Linked DNA regions of Homo sapiens: region 1 is linked to region 2. Evidence: promoter capture Hi-C in human tissues and cell types (Jung and others, 2019). All regions are on one chromosome and are shown on one strand. The core of a region is centred on a gene start or on the middle of the fragment in contact, and the rest is flanking DNA. Distances in the headings are between cores, read along the strand shown.

What was found. The method cuts DNA at HindIII sites, captures the fragments that hold promoters and counts their contacts. A contact is called where the count stands out against the background at its distance.
Region 1: a fragment that was not itself captured here is called in contact with the fragment with the promoter of OCM2 in region 2 in 1 of the 25 tissues and cell types used here (heart right ventricle).

What each region holds. Positions count from the first base shown.
Region 1 is chr7:96,279,204-96,284,055 of GRCh38, forward strand. The region is part of intron 2 of SLC25A13 (solute carrier family 25 member 13); the gene reads right to left. It also overlaps the pseudogene RPL21P74. Among named protein-coding and RNA genes, the nearest start is that of SLC25A13, 40 kb to the right of the region's middle. The HindIII fragment of the contact is 5,403 bases long and covers 1-4,852 here.
Region 2 is chr7:97,988,946-97,993,195 of GRCh38, forward strand. It overlaps OCM2 (oncomodulin 2), which reads right to left and starts at 1,251. Exons shown (of 4, transcript NM_006188.4): 1 at 1,099-1,251. The coding sequence starts at 1,159. The HindIII fragment of the contact is 22,202 bases long and covers 1-4,250 here.

The sequences.
Region 1 (4,852 bases), core at 1,035-3,534, 1.7 Mb before region 2:
TTTACTCACTTTGGTCTATTATATTTGTTGCAAATATTTTTCCAGTTTGATATTTTTATATAATTGAGTGTATAGAATTTTTTTCTCCTTTGAAATTTCTTCCATTACTTTTCTAAGCTTAGACACTAGCTGTATTAGTCTGTTCTTACACTGCTAATAAAGACATACCTGCGACTGGGTAATTTATAAATAAAAAGAGGTTTAATGGACTCACAGTTCCACATGGCTGGGAGGCCTCACAATCATGGTGGAAGGCGAATGAGGAGCAAAGTCACATCTTAACATGGCGGTAGGCAAGAGAGCTTGTGCAGGGGAACTCCCATTTATAAAACCATCAGATCTCATGAGACTTATTCACTACTACGAGAACAGTATGAGGGAAACCACCCCCATGACTCAATGATCTCCACCTGGCTCCACCCTTTAAATGTGGGGATTATTACAATTTAAGGTGAAATTTGGGTGGGGACACAGCCAAGCCATATCACCAGTCTTTCTTCATTTCAAGACTAAATATCAGAGAGTTTATCTGAGTTTTTTTAAAGTAGGTTTATCTTTTACCTTTAAGTTTTAGTACATTAGTACTTTATCTTTGTGTGTGATCTAAGGTAAGAATCCCCCAACTTTAATTTTTCCACTTAATCTCTTGGTTGTCCCACGAACACAAAGCAAATCATTCTCTCTTCCAGGTCTTTAGGATGCCATGTTTATCACATACTTAATTATCATATGGTCACCAGGGAAAGGCGTGACAAAATGGCTCCATCTGCAGTACCAGTTCTGATGAACTGGCAAAGGCTTCCTAGGGCCAACATGTATTCTGAGGCTGACCTACGCTCCATGGGAGAATGCTGGGATCGAATGACAGCTCTTGTCATCACTGCAGTCAGAGATGTTTCAGGACCATCCTTTTCAATTGTCTCGTCTACTCTTGCAAGATTACATGCTATAACTAGAGGGAAAGTTCTGTTAGGACAGAATTTTTTTTCTCTCATTTTTACTGCTGTGTCCTCAAATTCCCAGACTAGTACCTGGTAGATAGTGAAACATGTTCAAATAAATATTTTTTTAAAAGAATGAAAGGTTTAAAAAAGACATTGAATTATTTTACACTTGGAAATTTTTTTGGCCATGATCACTCCTTGATTTTCCACAAATGACCTTTAGAATCATTATCAAGTTGCTGCTCCCTAAAAAAATTCCACTGAAATGCAAAATAAAACAATGCAAGGCAGGGCACACTGACTCATGCCTGTCATCCCAGCACTTTGGGAAGCCAAGGTGGGCAGATCGCTTGAGCCCAGGAGTTCAAGACCAGCCTGGGCAAGATGGCGGAACTCCATCTCTACAAAAAATAAAAAATTAACCAGGTAGGGTAACGTGCACCTGTAGTCCCAGCTACTTGGGAGACTGAGGCAGGAGAATCGCTTGAGCACAAAAGATTGAGGCTGCAGTGAGCCATGTTTGCATCACTATACTCCAGCCTGGGCAACAAAGTGAGACCCTGTCTCAAAACATAAAACAAAAAGCCTACAATGCAATACCATGCCATACCCCCAAGATAACGAAAAAGAATAATAAGTGATGGCAAAAATGTGGAGCAAATGTTACTCTCACACACTGATGGTATGAGAATAAAGGAGTAAACCATTTTAGAAAAATGCTGGGCAGTATCTGCTATAGCTGAACATACAACCACAAGCCCACCAATTTCAATCAGAAGTATATCACCAACAGAAGTGTGCATATACACAAAAACTATGTGAAAATGCCCACAGCGGCATTATTTGTAGTATCCAAAAAACTAAAAATAACACAAATGTCAACCAATAGTAGGATACATTAATGGCTTGTGGTGAATTCACACAATGGAATACAACACAGCAATGAGAAAAAACTAACTCCAGCTGGGCACGGCATCTCACATCTGTAATCCCAGCACTTTGGGAAGCCAAGGCAGGTGGATCACCTAAGGTCAGGCGCTTGAGACCAGCCTGGCCAACATGGTGAAACCCCGTCTGTACTAAAAATACAAAAATTACCCAGGCATGGTGGCACAGGCCTGTAATCCCAGCTACTCAAGAGGCTGAGGCAGGAGAATCGCTTGAACCCGGGAGGCAGAAGTTGCAGTGAGCTGAGACCGCCCCATTGCACTCCAGCCTGGGCAACAAGTGCAAAACTCCATCTCAAAAAAAAAAAAAAAAAAGAATAAACTAACTCCAACTACATATGACAACAGACGAATCCTAAGGGTAAAAGAAAAGAAACATAAGAAAACCTAGCGTATAATTCCATTCACGCAAAGTGAAATAAACAGGCAAAACTTACATACAGTTAGTTTTAACATACAGTGACCAGAATTCAGACAACTGGTTACCCTTGGTGGGTGCTGATCAGAAGGGGCATCAGAGGGCCTCTGGGATGCTCGTTACATGGGCCTACTCACTTTCTGAGTATTCATGGCTGTACATTTGTGATGTATGCATTCAATTTATATTTCAACAGTTTACATTTTAGAAGTCTTTGAGAGATATTATCAGCTTCATTTTTTTAGATGCAATAAAGAAATCATTTCTTAAATATAAGAGCATGTTAATCTGGGCACAGAAATAGTTTTCTCCAGTTTTTAAAACAAGCTCATCACCACGGCTGGGCAGTCTGCTCTGTGATTTAAGTAAACATGTCAAAGGTTGCTCCTTAGGATTGATGGACAGAGGCAGACCATAATAAAAATATGTATGAGGGTAGTGATAAATGCAGCTCTGCTCTCCCTGCAGCAGTGAGCAGAGGGTCCCTATAGGGGGAACGGACTATATCCTTATATCCACCACATCTTTAAAATGTCATTAATCCTTCTTTGGGAATATTTTTCACTAGTGAGCTGAAGCCTTCCTCCCTTGCAATTTTCAGGAGTTTTATTATGATTAAACATACACCTGCAAAATGGGAAGAGTTTTAGGATTCCTCATGCAACCTTGTATAATACTTATTGTCATCACCAAGAAATACCACCATACTCAGTGAAGATGACAGCAAAGGAAACCAGAAGGAACCTATCACTACAAATGCCCATACCCCGAGGGCAGGGGTCCTATCTGGCCTGCTCACCATCAGTCACAGTAAATTGATAAAGGTTTGTAAGCTGTGAATGAGCCAGGGTAGAACCATAATCATCCAGCTACCCATTTTGTCATGAATCACTCATATCCTGGGACTGAAGGACAAATCCCCTACATTGTTTTCCAACCACTGAGAAGGTGCACACAACAGGTCACTGCATCTGCCCATCCTTTACTTTGATTCCCTGTTATAGGGATGGAACAAAATATAATTTAAGGATTTGCATCTGGATTGGGTATTTTATATTAGGGAATTATCATTAACTTTATTAGGTGCACAATGGTATTATGACTGTGTAGGAGATTGTTTTTATTATTTGAAGCTCTATGCTAAATTATTTAGGGTGAATTATAGTGATAGCTAAGTTATATTTATTAACATAAATCAGAAAAAAATGTATAAACTAACATGACAAGTATTACTTTAAATCAGATGGTGGTTATGTGGGTGTTTACTATTCTATTTTCTGTATGTCTGAAAATTGTCACAATAAAGTTAAAAACATATTTAAGAAACATAAATGGCCAATAAACATATTGCTCTATTTATTTAAAAATGAAAATTTTAAATAAGATACAATTTTTCAACCAACAGATTGGCATAAAGTCTTTTTTGTTGCTGCTGCAACAAAAACTCATAATAATCTGAGTTGATATAATGTAGGAAATGAACACTTCCGTGTTCCCACCCAAAATAAATATTGAAATAACCTTCATGAGAGGCAGTCTACCAAGGGGAATCACAAGCCTTAATATGTTCTAAACCCATTCTAACCCAATGGTGCCACTTCTAGGAATTTATCCTAAGAAAATAATGCTAGCTATATGCAAAAATGTAGGTACAATACTATCATTACAGTGCTGTCATGATAGTAAAGCACAGGAAACAACTAAATATTCAATAATTAAATAGTGCTTCAATAAGTTAGGGCAAAACAGAAACAGCCATATGTAGGAATATTATGCAGCATTAAAAATATTGTAGTAGGGTTCCTTTCAGCTGGAACCACCATCTTCCAGTAATTCACCAAAATGGGATGAACACAAAGGGAAAGAGGAGAGGCACTCAATATATGTTCTGTAGGCCTTTTAGAAAACATAGAGTTGTTCCTTTGGCCACATATATGCAAATCTATAAGAAAGGTGATATTGTAGACATTAAGGGAATGAGTACTGTTCAAAAAGGAATGCTTTACAAGTGTTACCATGGCAAAAGTAGAGGAGTCTACAATGCCCCCAGCATGCTGTTGGCACTGTTGTAAACAACAAGTTAAGGGCAAGACTCTTGCTAAGAGAATCAATGTGTGTGCTGGGCACATTAAGCACTCTAAGAGCTGAGATAGCTTCCTGAAATGCATGAAGAAAAATGATCAGAAAAAGAAGGTGTACCTGGTGTCAGCCTGCTCCACGCAGAGAAGCACACTTTGTGAGAACTCACGGGAAGGAGCTTGCATTGCTGGAAGCTATTTCCTATGACTTCATGGCAAATAGGTGTTTAAAAAAAAAAAAAAAAAAAAAAAAAGACCTCTGGATTGTAAAAATGTGGTGTCCACTCCCTCAAAGAAATATTTAAAGCAAATTTTAATTGTGTCCTAATTAACTGTATAATGTCTTTACTAATCAAATTTAACGTATTGCTTACCAAAAGATGTGAGGTAACTTACTGCGCAAGAAATTACTCAACTGGTTAGAAGATGGCCAGATATTATTTATGACATATTTGTACTGGTTTA
Region 2 (4,250 bases), core at 1-2,500:
TTTTGAGACAGAGTCTCACTCTGTCGCCAGGCTGGAGTGCAGTGGCGTGATCTCGGCTCACTGCAACCTCTGCCTCCCAGGTTCAACTGATTCTCCTGCCTCAGCCTCCCGAGTAGCTGGGATTACAGGCATGCACCCCCATGCCCAGCTCATTTTTGTATTTTTAATAGAGACAGGGTTTTGTCAGGCTGGCCAGGTTGGTCTTGAACTCCTGACCTCAAGTGATGCACCGGCCTTGGCCTCCCAAAGTGCTGGGATTACAGGTGTGAGCACCACACCTGGCCCTTCAGTGATTTCTTGCTTTCATGTTTAGTAGGTTTCTTTTGTCTTACAGAAGTGTAATCGTGTGCTCAGATCCCAGATCTCTATAATTTTAGTTATCTAATAAATAGTAGTTTTCTTCTCTGATTCCATGAATTTTCCAGCCAAGCTCTTATTTACTTATTTATTTATTTATTTATTTATTTATTTAGAGACAGAGTCTCACTCTGTCGTCCAGGCTGGAGTGCAGTGTAGCGATCATAGCTCACCACAGCCTCAACCTCCTGGGCTTGAGTGATCCTCCTACCTTAGTTTCCAGAGTAGCTGGGACCACAGGCACATGCCACCATGCCCCGCTAGTTTTTATTTTTATTGTTATGTTGTAGAGATGGAGTCTTGTTATGTTGCCCAGGCTGGTCTCAAACTCCTGGGCTCAAACAGTCCTCTCACCTTGGCCTCCGAAAAGTGTTGGGATTACGGATGTGAGCCACCATGCCTGGTCTACATTTTTTTTTTTTTTGTAGACAGAGTCTACAAAAAAGGCCGGGTTCAAGCAATTCTCAGCCTCAGCCTCCCGAGTAGCTGGGATTACAGGTGCCCACCACCACGCCTGGCTAATTTTTTTGTATTTTTATTAGAGATGGGGTTTCACCATCTTGGCCAGGCTGGTCTCAAACTCCTGACCTCGTGATCCACCCACCTCAGCCTCCCAAAGTGCTAGGATTACAGGCGTGAGCCACTGCGTCTGGCCGCCTGGCCTACATTTTGATTTTGTGTTGCCTCGCTGGAGGGGCAAAGCTGTGAGGAAATCCCACCCCCGCCCCACGTCCCCTCTACCTTGGCATTCCTGGAGCGCTGCTGCAATGTCATCAGCACTGAGCACGTCCGTGATGCTCATTTTCTACCTACTCACACAGAATAAACGAGAGGCGATAAGCCACAAACAGGAACGTGCACATCCAGGGGAAACACATCTTCCCAGGCCCACTGAAACTGTATGTGTGTCTAGATTTTTTTTTTTTTTTTTTTTGAGATGGAGTCTCACTCTGTCACCCAGGCTGGAGTGCAGTGGCACAATCTTGGCTCACTGCAACCTCCACCTCCTGGGCTCAAGTGATTCTCCTGCCTCAGCCTTCCGAGTAGCTGGGATTACAGGTGCGCACTACCAGGCCTGGCTGATTTTTGTGTTTTTAGTAGAGATGGGGTTTTGCCATGTTTGCCAGCCTGGTCTCGAGCTCCTGACCTCATGTGATCTGCCTGCCTTGGCCTCACAAACTGCTGGGATTACAGGCATAAGCCACCAAGCCAGGCCTGTCTAGAATTTTTAAAATGTGATAAGCATGGTTTTGTATTAAGTGACGGGACAGAATATCCAAATTAAAACCAGATACCAAAAAGACCCCAGCCCTTTTTGTCTCAGAGCCTTCTTTTGAATATATGCCAAAAATGAAAAAAAAAAACATGACCCAAAGAAGGATTCAATTGTTTTCTTATAAAAATTATACTGACATAATCAGTCATTTGCATAGGCAGCCGTAAACCATGTTACAAATGCACTGGCATTTTCCTACAGCAGTCCGAGAGATGCACTGTTGCAAATTCCACGTGGGAAAGGATACAGTTTGGGCTGCTTGCAGACATTCTGTGGAAGAAGACATGCTACCTGTCCTGAAAGGTGGGAAGCAGATGGATGAAAAGCCCATCTCCCAGAGATTAAAATCCTTCCAGATGTCAGAGCCATGGGAAAACAGGAGTCTAAGCACCTGAGCCTAATATGAATGCATGCAGTGAAGAAGAGTCTGGGGTCTGATGGGTCCACCAGTTACTCACCGTTTTAGGTTTTCCCCCAGGAAGAATCAGGAAAAAGAGTTGAAGGAGCAAAACAACAGATGTGCTTTTGCTACCTTACTGACCTACCTTATATAGGCTAGAAAAAGTGATAGTTACAACCTCTTAGATTTCCTTTTCAAGGATCAAGTGGATGCAGCTCAAATGTCTTGTCCTACTCAGGAAACCTCTTTTTTTTTTCTATTTATGTCTCAAGGGAATGTGGGTGGGAATAGCCAATTGTAAAAACAACAACAACAACAACAACCTCAACAAACCTTAACTAAGGTTTCAATTCTGCAAACGAACCCTGTTGGCAAAGTGTGGAGAAGGTTCTAGAGCCTGGTAAGCTGGAGATGGTGGCCTGAACTAAGACAAACACATACAGGGTGCTCTGTAAGCTGAAAAGCTCCCCAGATGTTAGCAGGTACCGTTGGAGGCAGGCCTGTTTTCAGCTTTGGGAACTATGGATGTGTAAGGCTGACCTCAATCTGGAGTTGAAGACTCAAAGCCATTGTCACCAAGTGCACACACAGGACTCGTCCGGCACAGGAGACAGGGCTAAGTGACGTGATTTTCCTACAAAACTCTTGACTTTTACGTTTCCCAGCTATACCATAAATTGCACACACTCAAAAGGCAAAAAGGAGGAAATCAAACCAGCATCCCCAACCCCCAAAACTAACAAGTTCAGAAACAAATACTCTGAGGCTGAGGCCAGGACTAGACACCTCAAGATTTTGTTTCTGTTGTGACAGGGTCTTGCTCTGTTGCCCCGACTGGAGTGCAGTGGTACAATCTCAGCTCATTGCAGCCTTGACCTCCAGGCTCAAGCGATCCTCCCACCTCAGTCTCCCGAGTAGCTGGTACTACAGGCACACACCACCATGCCTGGCTAATTTTTTTAATATACATATTTTTTGGAGAGACAGGGTTTTGCCATGTTGCCTAGGCTGGTCTTGAACTCCTGGGCTCGAGTAATTCTCCCACCTCAGCCTCCCAAAGTGCTGGGATTACATGTGTGAACCACCACTCCTGGCCTTTTTTTTTTTTTTAATTTTCAGCAAACATTTATTGAGGCTTTATATGGCCAGCACTGTGCTAGACTCTTCTTTTTAATTATTGGGTAAAAACCACATTCCATAAAATATATAATCTCAACCATTTTTAAGTGTATGTATAGTACAATATTGTTAACTCTTGGTGCATTATTGAATGAGAGATCTCTGTAATTTATTCAGCTGGAAAAACAGAAACTCTGTATCCATTGAGCTGCCACAACTCCCCTGTTCCCCCACCTCCCAGCTCCTGGTAAGCATCATTGTACTTTCTGCTTCTAAGAGTTTGACTACTGGCCGGGCACAGTGGCTCATGCCTGTAATCCCAGCACTTTGGGAGGCCGAGGCAGGCAAATCACAAGGTCAGGAGTTCGAGACCAGCCTGACCAACATGGTGAAACCCCATCTCTACTAAAAATGCAAAAATTAGCTGGGCATGGTAGCCTGTAATCCCAGCTACTTGGGAGGCTGTGGCAGGAGAATCACTTGAATCTGGGAGGCAGAGGTTGCAGTGAGCTGAGATTGCGCCACTACACTATAACCTGGGTGACAGAACGAGACTCCACCTCAAAAAAAAAAAAGAGTTTGACTGCTTTATCTAGGGACATCATATAAGTGGAATCATATAGTATTTGTATTTTTCAGACTGGCTTATTTCACTGAGTATAATGTCCTCAAGGTTCATCTGTGTTGTGGCATGTGTCAGGATCTCCTTTTTTTTTTTTTTTTTTTTTTGAGACGGAGTCTTGCTCTGTCACCCAGGCTGGAGTGCAGAGGCATGATCTCAGCTCACTACAACCTCCGCCTCCCGGGTTCAAGAAATTCTCCTGCCTTAGCCTCCCGAGTAGCTAGGATTACAGGCACATGCTACCACACCCGGCTAATTTTTGTATTTTTAGTAGAGATGGGGGTTTCACCATGTTGGCCAGGCTGGTCTCAAACTCCTGACCTCAAGTGATCCACCTGCCTTGGCCTCCCAAAGTGCTGGGATTACAGGTGCGAGCCGCCGCACCTGGCCTAGGATCTCCTTTTTAAAAGCTGGAGTCATGTTTTTTGTTTGTTTGTTTTTCATTTTTATTTTTATTTGTTTTTGAGACAGAGTTT